2 separate regions of the Homo sapiens genome follow, and region 1 is linked to region 2. Evidence: promoter capture Hi-C in human tissues and cell types (Jung and others, 2019). All regions are on one chromosome and are shown on one strand. Each heading gives the region's core, a stretch centred on a gene start or on the middle of the fragment in contact. The rest is flanking DNA. Distances are from core to core; before and after follow the strand shown.

Region 1 (4,821 bases), core at 759-3,258, 1.5 Mb before region 2:
ATTCAGATCTTTCTTTTGAAGCATTACAAAGCTTGGTATTTGAAAGCGTCATCTTCTTATAAAAATTATCTTTTAGTACTTGGAAACAATTCCACAATTTTTCTTGTTCCATACTGGGTGCTTTTTATAGTATCAGTAGTTTGCTGATACTTACAGAATATCACTACAGATCTTACACATATAAATGATGTTATTTGTGCCTTTAGGGAAATGAGAACTCTAGTTAGCCAATATGTTTAGTTAAGTCACAGTTAATACTTGTTTCTCCCACGTGGTCCCCTTTCCTTGGGCTTCCTGAGGGCTTCCCTTGACTTCCCTTCTTGGATATATTAAGATAATTAAAGTTCTTCTTTAAAAGCCTCATGATCCTGGAAATAGAATCTTTTCTACAACCACCTTTCCATTTTTCTTTTCTTTACCTATTTTCGTCTCTACAGTCCACCCAGGAAAAAGCACATGATAACAATACACAGAAATCTGTGCTCAACCAGTAGAATTTAACTGATCTATTGAAGCCCATCTTGGTATCTATGAAAGAGTGGCAAATAATTTGAAGATTTGTATGGTAAAATACCAGGAAGCTGAATATGGTAAACATTACAACCTTTACCTTACTAGGTTCTACAGATGAATCAAAAAAGAAAGAAAAGCAAAGGTACTTGTATTAGAGTGGCTTCCAGTCTTTTGGAATATAGCATAGGGATTCAATATTTGTTTTTTCTGTTTGAAACAGGAGCTTGCTCTGTTGCCCAGACTGGAGTGCAGTGGTATGATCTAGGCTCACTGCAGCCTCTACCTCCTGGGTTCAAGTGATCCTCCCACCTCAGCCTTCCAAATAGCTAGGACTGCAGGCATGTGCTGTCATGCCCAGCTAATTTTGTTTGTTTGTTTGTTTGTTTGTTTGTTTTGTAGAGACAGGGTCTCACTCTGTTGCCCAGGCTGGTCTCTAACTCCTAGGCTCAAGTGATCCTCCCACCTAAGCCTCCAAAAGTGCTAGGATTGCAGGTGTGAGTTACCACACCCGGTCAGGCATTAAGGACAAAATCCTATGCAAAAATATTCTCTTCCTCTCATATTCATCCAGCAGTCTGTATCCCCTACTCTCCATACTTTTGACACTAAATATAAGAAAAAACTAAAAATTAATTTTATTTGGTTTAATTATTATAGCAACTTATGGTCTACATTCCATCTACAAACCTTCTTTTCTATCAAGATTTCTAGATAAGCATTGTCTACTCTAATTTACCATACACAGAACTATCCTGTGATAGTTAATTAGCATTGCTTAATTAGACATATTGGTTTCAGTTACTATCAGCTTACCTGGAATCATTAGCCAGATTGGTTCTAAAAAGATTATCTTCGGGTCACCAATACCAAATTTAGTCACGTGTAGAGAAATGAACCTTACAAGAATTTCACAAACACCCTCCACATATTCACCTTTCTGCAAACATGAAACCTTGTGAAGTAAGAAATATGCGAAGCAAGGTAAGGATGGGCTTTAGTAACAAATCATTACAATCATCTCTGAGTATAGGTAAGCAATTTACTAATGATAAACCTATTTCGGCTCTTAGCAAAAGGTATACTGTAACTGCCATTAAAGGCATCAAAGTAGAATGCTTGTGATTTGAGGACAGAATTTTACCTTTTTTCCTACCTTGACAGCATTAGTGTAGGAAGTTGAAAGCTATTATAGGATGCCAATAAACTGCTGTTGGCCAGTGATGTAATTTGAACACTGGCACTTCTCACTATGACTCACCAGAGTCTATTGTTTTACCTGTTTTTCTCTTTTTTTTTTCTTTTTTAGCAGCAATCCAGAAAACTTTATAAAATATGGTTGCCAAATTAAAGAACCAAACTTATAGTGATATAAATACCAGTCATTCAGACTCACCTTTGGAAAGTGGTGGAGAAAAAATTTAATAAACTTTTTCACCACTTTAAAAGAATAAATACATGCCCTGAAAAACAAAATTCTCAGTATTGATAAGAACCAATCTCATATTATTGAAGTAAATCTCATACAGATACTGTTTTCCTTTGGTTATTTTCTATTAATGTTGAAATGGAAATTATATAGCCTGCATGTATTTCTCTATTTTCTCTAAAATAAGAATGAAAGATTGCAAAAACAAGGCCTATTTGGAGGGTAAGCCTATAATATTCTGGAGGAGTCAGATGCTCACGTTTAGAAGGTGAAGTAAAGTCAAAAAGTAAATCAAGATAATATCAGTTACTGCCTGAAAAAAAAGTTTAATTGTACTTTGGAGATTTTAGTGCATTGATCTTTTACAGGAGTATAATTTAGGTTTGAATAAGTTGGGCCGAAGTAAAGTGATTACAGTGTACTCATTCAGGAGAGAAAGATGTGTGACATCTTCACACATCCTTCCACAATCCTACTCCAGATCACCATTTTTAACCTTTGTTCACTTCCATGGCCATCCTACAATGAAAGGGTAGATCTGTGTTCAAGATTTTAAAGTTTCAAAAGCTACACAGAGTAAATATAAGTAATACGAAGCTGGATGGGAAACCAATGAGTGTTGTGTTAGTTGCTGAATTTGCAGACTATAGTTTACATTTTTAAAAAAGGTCAAGTGTTATTTCACAACAGAGTGCGAGGGGAGTTAGAAACAAAGTTGATATATATGAATTTTGCCAACTGTACCCAATTAACAAATGCTGTACATAGTATTCTTTAAGCTATGTTCATGAATAATTCATGAAAACAGCTGCTGCTGGAGGTAGATTTGTTTTTTCTAGCTTATGAACACAGTGTGATGCACACAAGGAAATTAATTTACTGTTGCTGTGCTCAAAAACTGATTTTCATATGAGCATATTCATCAGCACCGTGAAAAACATCTCCCTATGAACTCATTGGTACATCTCTGATTCATTTTGCTCTATAATACTTCTGGGATAAAGATTCTTGCGAGGTATCTGCCATCCACAAAGTTTGTCCCTTATCATTGCTTTCATGTTGACTAAATCATCTGATTCCAGAACCTTACACTTCCTTTTCTAACCAGTAGGAAAATTAGCATTGCTGTCCTTTTGTGAATTGTTTTCTCAATTCTCAATAGAATTCTACCATTTTCTTTCTAGAAACCATGTTTAAGAGTTCAAAAAATAATATGTTAATTTTTAATTAGCTACAGAGCCCCAAAGTTAGAAAGATCCTTAAAACTGATCTAATCCAAACTGCCATCTGTTGAATGGACATCTTCTGAAAACTTTATTGTTCAAGATCTATCAGCTCTTGCTACTCTATTTCAACCATAATTCTTTTTCTAGCTATATACAAATTTTATAACTATTTCATACATTTTAGTTATTGTTGAAAATATTGAACAGTGTAGGAAGTTGGATGACCCTTTTAACAGTCATTTTTATCACTCTTATGACAATTTTTCTCCACCTTGTCTGTGAAGATTATATGAAAGTCCTTCAAAAGCAGAACTGAAGGACAGATTTTATTTTCTTAGAGGAAATTTAGAGGCATACGAGAGTATTATATAAATTAAAAATAGAAAGTAAAAGTGAGTGATCATAGAAAATCATTGTGTTTCACTTCACACCAAACCAAATGTAACAAATATTTTACCTTTTGGAAAGGTTAAGTAGAAAGTAAGACTCCATTAGGTCTCATGTATGGTTCATGGAAAGAAAAGAAAATAAGGAAGGAAGAAAGGAAGGGAGATAGGGAGGAAAGGAGGGAGGGAGGCTGGTTCTATATTGGTTCTTCCAGACTACAGCTGTTCCATCCCGATCTATTCTGCTTTTGACCTTACAGGAACACAGTATTGTAGGTTTTGAACCAGTGATAAAACTGAGGCCCAGTAACCTGGCCCAATGATTTTTTTTTTTTCACGCATTTTGCAGGGAATAGAATGTAATTTAAAACCAGGTCTAAAGTCTACTTCCTTTGCAGGGTGCCACAATAATAACCTAGAAGGATAAGCAATGTAGATAAGATAAGCAGATATGTCAACTATTTTTAGCCTGAAGCTCATAATATTCAATGAAATAAAAAATAACAACAATGAAAAAAACATCTATAGTAGCACTTCTTAGGGCTATCTGAGTTAATTTTAGTGGTTGTGAACTTTGTATGAACTTGGTCTCTGGTAAGAACTTGTCTAATCCATCAATAGTGTCACTAAGATGGAATGAGTCTGATTGTCAGTTATTTCCGAGGAGGAACTTTACAATTTCTAGTCTTATTCAATGTTCAATAAATAAATTATTTTCTAAAAATCTGTTTCATCCTGAATTGGATTCATATATTGAAACACATACATTCTTTGCTTTTTAAAGTATCTTTTATCTTACGATTATTCATTCCAGAATTACATGAAAAAATAGGACATCACATTTGAATTTTAGGACAGAGATTCATTGCATCACATCTTTCAACAATACAAAGGAATTATTTGGATTTAGATTTATATTCTCCAGAAGCTTAGGCATGAGTATAAATTTGGCATAATATCTCTGTAATGGCCTTACAATAATGAGTTTTACTTTACAGTATGTTGGCAACAGAACAATTAAACATTTCTTTATTTGAGTCTTTATTTTCTTAAATTTTATCTTCATTTGTCTCCTTTTGATGAAACCAAAAGAAACCATAAATATGCATTGGCAATTCACATGTTTTCTATATATTTGATATTTTAGCATGTTTACCTCTAGAGTCTAAGATTATTGTGTATTTTTAAGTGGAAGAGGTATTCATTCTCATAGGACAGCTAATTATAATTACTTACCTTTCTTGGTCATTACATCAGCCTCTAAGAATTG
Region 2 (4,722 bases), core at 935-3,434:
ATTACAGGCTCTGGAGCCTCTGCCACTAATTGGGAGATTATGCAGAAGAAATAAGATTGGAAGTTACTTGAACGTGTAGGAAGTGTTGTGTCCCACAGGAACTGAGAACAACCACTTTAACAAAATAAAAGGACTTACGTATACCTCTATTAGACATCTTCATCACATTCTACAGAACATGGATACTTACAGGCTAAACAGATTATGAGAAATTTTAAAAGATTCAGTTGGTAGAAGGTAAGAGGAAAACTAGGACCATGTTGTAGCACAAAGAATGTTTTCAAAAATATGAGACTAAAAATGTCCTTTTGGGTTAGCAATAAAGAGTTCTTCAGTGGTTTTTCTAAGGGCAGTTTAAGTGTAATGGGGTGGTGGGGGGCAGGGGTGGGATGGAGGGGTGGAAGTCAGAAGTAAGATAAACAGTTTTCCTCAGCATTTGTTCATTCAACAAATATTTAGTACCCACAGAGGAGTGTGAGACTGACTGGGCAACATAGTGAGAACTCGTCTCCACAAAATTTTTTTAAAAAATTAGCCGGGTGTGGTGGCCTGTGCCTGTAGTCCCAGCTACTTAGAAGGCTGAGGCCAGAGGATAGCTTGAGCCCAGGAGTTCCAGGCTGCAGCGAGCTATGATCTCGCCACTGCACTTCAGCCTGGGCGACAGAGCAAGAGCCTGGGAGAATGTGTTTAAATGGTGACGGGAAAGAATGAATAAAAGAAGGAAAGCTTAAAATACATTAAGAGAAAATATATTGATGATGATGGAAGGGAGATGAAATTGGTCAGGGTCCAAAGCCCATGTGGAGGGCTTCACATAAAAAGGAGGAATAGTATTTCTCAGCCGGATGCAGCCAGAGATGGAAGGAGGATAGCATCTAAACCTTCCCTATAGTTTTCCTCAAATGGACAGCTCCTGAGTTCATGCACTTGTCACCCCGGCTTCTGCGTGGGATATAACTACAGGGATGGGGAGGGGAAACAGGAGATGGGCTAATACTGAATGCTTCCTGTTGATTAAAAAGGCACTTCAAACATAGCTGGCTGGGCACAGTGGCTCATGTCTGTAATCCCAGCACTTTGGGAGGCCAAGGTGGGCGGATCACAAGGTCAGGAGTTCGAGACCAGCCTGGCCAAAATGGGAAACCCCGTCTCTACTAAACAAATACAAAAATTAGCCAGGCATGGTGGCCTGCGCCTGTAATCCCAGCTACTAGGGAGGCTGAGGCAGAAGAATTGCTTGAACCCGGGAGGTGGGGGTTGCAGTTAGCCGAGATTGCGCCATTGCACTCCAGCCTGGTGACAGAGCGAGATTCCGTCTCAAAAAAAAAAAAAAAGTTAGCTATATCCTCCTGCAAATATGTATATAAAGAAGATATTTTAGTTCAAATTAGCCTTGGAAATATTCATGTAATTCTTTATTACATTTAGTTTCACACTAGGATGATTTCACTTAAATGATTGAAGGCATATATCTGGAATTAGCAGAGAATTCATGTTTAACAATTTATCATTATAAATGATAAATTATAATATTTATCAATTATAAGTTATAATAAATATTAAATAAACTATAATAAACCTATAAAATAAATTATAATAAATATTAATTATACCACAAAATCATGGCCCTATAAAACAATGACAAGGTTAATCAAATCTGTCTGTAAATAGCAAGACTCAATGGTGGCATTATGCCAATGCCCGAAATTACTATAAAAACTCCCAAATAACATTGTTATCCTTGTAAATGCTTCCTTGTAAAGACTGCAGTAGGTGCCTATTTCTTGGAGGAAGAGAACTGGACATTAAAAGAAAGGCTCTGCCTACAGGAGCTTCGAATCTACCAAAGGGAAGCTCAAATCCCGCCCAGCGGACCCGCCCGCTTCCCCTAAGCTTGCCTCCCGCCACGAAAGCTGGAAAGTCACTGGGGGCGGAGCTAAGGGGAGCTGCGAGAATTCCGGGGGATGTGACCGGACTGGGCGGGGCCTGTACCTTGGCCCTGCGCTCCCGTTGACGTCGCATCCTGTCAGTATTTCGCCAAACCTCCAGGCGCCATCAGTGTGTGAACCGTTACGCAGCTGGTCCACCGCGGGCGGAGAACAAGCGACTATGCCCAGGGATCCTGCACGCATGCGTGGAGCTGAACCGTCAGCGTGCGTGTGACGTCACCTGCGCGCCCGCCTAAACTCTTCCTAGGGTTCTTTCTAGAGTACGGGTGAGTGAAATTTGTAAGGTTTGGTGTGTTCATTTGAGTGGGTGCCAGACGTAACGGGCCCGGGATTGAATTAGTTTAGATCAAAATTTGATGTAATTATCGCAGAGAAACGCTTTCTTACGAGTGTTTATCTCGAGCCTGCTGTGTTCAGCATCTTTCTTGGTGTTTTGGGAGAAGCAGACAGGAGTTAAGTCCAAGTCCCCGCCCTCACAGAGCTCAGGTGGCTTGGGGGAAGGTTGGTGCGCAAACATTAAAATTAGATATCGACACTAGTGAGTGTCCCCGTCAAGAGGTCTGTGAAATAAGGTTGAGCCTACGATGCAGAAGTTAATCTCAGTTCAGTAATTTTTGTTTCTTCATTTATTTAGCGGGTGAAGGGAGGGGGCCACAGAAACATGTTGGAGTACGATGCTTTTGGTGCACAGTTTGTCTATACAATATTACAGCTCCCGTGGGGGTTAAAAAAAAACACGATTTTTCAGCCTCCCTCTTCCCCAATAAATTTTACATTTTAAAGCACAATGTTAAAAGCGTTTGTTAGTGACGTTACAGATCTTAAAACTGGCTTTTTGGAGGTACTTTACGCAGCTAAGTAGAAAATGGTTAAGTTTCAGTTCCTTGGAAGAATGTTTTGTATTGATCTTTGCAATAAAATTGTAAAATAATCCATCCTCCTGTCACCCCCCAACCCCGAACCGTGTTAACTATAATAAGGAAAAGCATAACTAAGTCAAAGAGACTTAAAGCAAATTATTGACTTCATTTTGGGTAAAACACTGGTTTTGTATTTTCAGCAGCAAGTTGTCAGATTCCCTAGTTGAATTTGCTTTGGACATCAGTGTGAAGCAGAACTGATATGCCACTTGAATTAATAAAGGAAGTCAATGGGGTGCCTGAAGTTCAGCCGCTGAGTAAATTACATAAAGTAGATTTCGGATCCCTACAGCCAGGTTACAATTATAGCAAGAAATATATTCAGGTAAGAATTTCTATAACTCAGAATGCTTTTTCCTACTAAAAGGAATGCAGTTTTTAAGTGTTGAGTTTATTTATGAGAACTGGTTTAGGTATGGTTTTTATCTTTGTCATAACATTTGAGATTGAATATTTCAATAAGTTATTCTTATTCAGTACTTATTTAGCGAACAATTATCAAATTCGTGTGTGAAACATTGGAGTAAGTTTCTGAGGTACAAAGATGAATAAATATAGTCCCGGAACTAAAGATAATCACATTTCTGTGGGGTCTGACAGATCAATCACCTGATCTCCAATTAAAATTAATAGGTGTGATATTAGCATTGTGATGTGTGAACATGAGAGAGCTTTTGGTTCTGACAGATCACGAAAGTTGAGCTGGAACTTACGGGATAACAGACTGTGCTGTACCTTCCTTTGAGGTAAAAAGCAGTCCTTATGTGCATGTTGAGGAATTTGGATATTACTCTAAAAGCTATGGGAAGTCTTTAGTAGGTTTTAGCAGGAGAAAGACATGATTTACTTTGAGTTCAAAAAACTTTGCTCCTAGGTAGAGAATATATTGGCGAATGCAAGATTAGAGGAAAGATGTTTAGTTAAGAGGCAATTACAGTAATTTAGGTGAGAGTTGATGATGATCTGGGCCAGTGGCAGAGGGGATGATGGGAAGGATATTGAAAAAAGATAGTAATAATAATAACTAAAGTTAACATTCATTGCATTTTTTTCCATGCGTTAGGTAGTTTTTACGTATATTATTTAATCATCACAAAGACCTATGACATAGGTACTGTTATTAAAGACACTGTGTTTCAGAAAGGTTAAGCAATTTGCCTGAGATCATATTGATGATATGAAGTAGAGCAGGAATTTGAATATAGATGATTTCCTTTAGACCTGACAGGATAAAGAAGCAGAATCAGTAGGTCTTAGAGAACAATTAGACTAGAGTGGCAAAGAGAAATTCAGGAAACTTCTGTTTCTAATTCCTAGCCAACAAGGAGAAGAAAATAGGGGGTACATACTTAGGGAGAAACATGATAAGTTCAATTTTGGTCATATTTGAAAGGTCTTTAGAGGTATATAAATAGTAGTGTGCAGTAGGCAAGTGGATTGGGGAGTTTGAAGCCCAAAGGGACTCTCATTTAGATGGGTTTGAGCCAAAGCATAGAAGAGAAGAGAACCATGTTGAAGGAGTCAGTGAAAGAAAGTAGTATGAATAAGTAGCAGAGATGGTCTAGAGAAGGAGGAAGAAACTCAGGAGTCTTTGATACGTAAGAATGCAAGTTTCAATAACACTTGTATAGATTGTTGTCTAGTAGGCACTCTCCTAAATGCTTTGTATATGTAATCTCTTTGTATATGTTCTCTCCTAAGAACTCTAAGTATTATTCTCATTTTATAGCTGGAAAACAAACACAGGTTAAGTGATTTATTCAAGGTCTAATAGCCAGTAAGTGGCTGAGCAGTGATTTGCATTCCCATTGTCTTTGCTACTAAACAGAGCATTATGTTGCTATTAGATGCTC

What was found. Contacts are between HindIII fragments. The study calls those that stand out against the background at their distance.
Region 1: a fragment that was not itself captured here is called in contact with the fragment with the promoter of POT1 in region 2 in 1 of the 25 tissues and cell types used here (lymphoblastoid cells).

The regions. Positions count from the first base shown.
Region 1 is chr7:126,441,070-126,445,890 of GRCh38, reverse strand. The region is part of intron 10 of GRM8 (glutamate metabotropic receptor 8); the gene reads left to right. Among named protein-coding and RNA genes, the nearest start is that of MIR592, 610 kb to the left of the region's middle. The HindIII fragment of the contact is 6,136 bases long and covers 1-4,821 here.
Region 2 is chr7:124,927,287-124,932,008 of GRCh38, reverse strand. It overlaps POT1 (protection of telomeres 1), which reads left to right and starts at 2,184. Exons shown (of 19, transcript NM_015450.3): 1 at 2,184-2,215; 2 at 3,010-3,194. It overlaps POT1-AS1 (POT1 antisense RNA 1), which reads right to left and starts at 2,136. Exons shown (of 8, transcript NR_125719.1): 1 at 1,993-2,136. RefSeq lists enhancers at 1,900-2,194, 1,949-2,248. The HindIII fragment of the contact is 5,005 bases long and covers 1,311-4,722 here.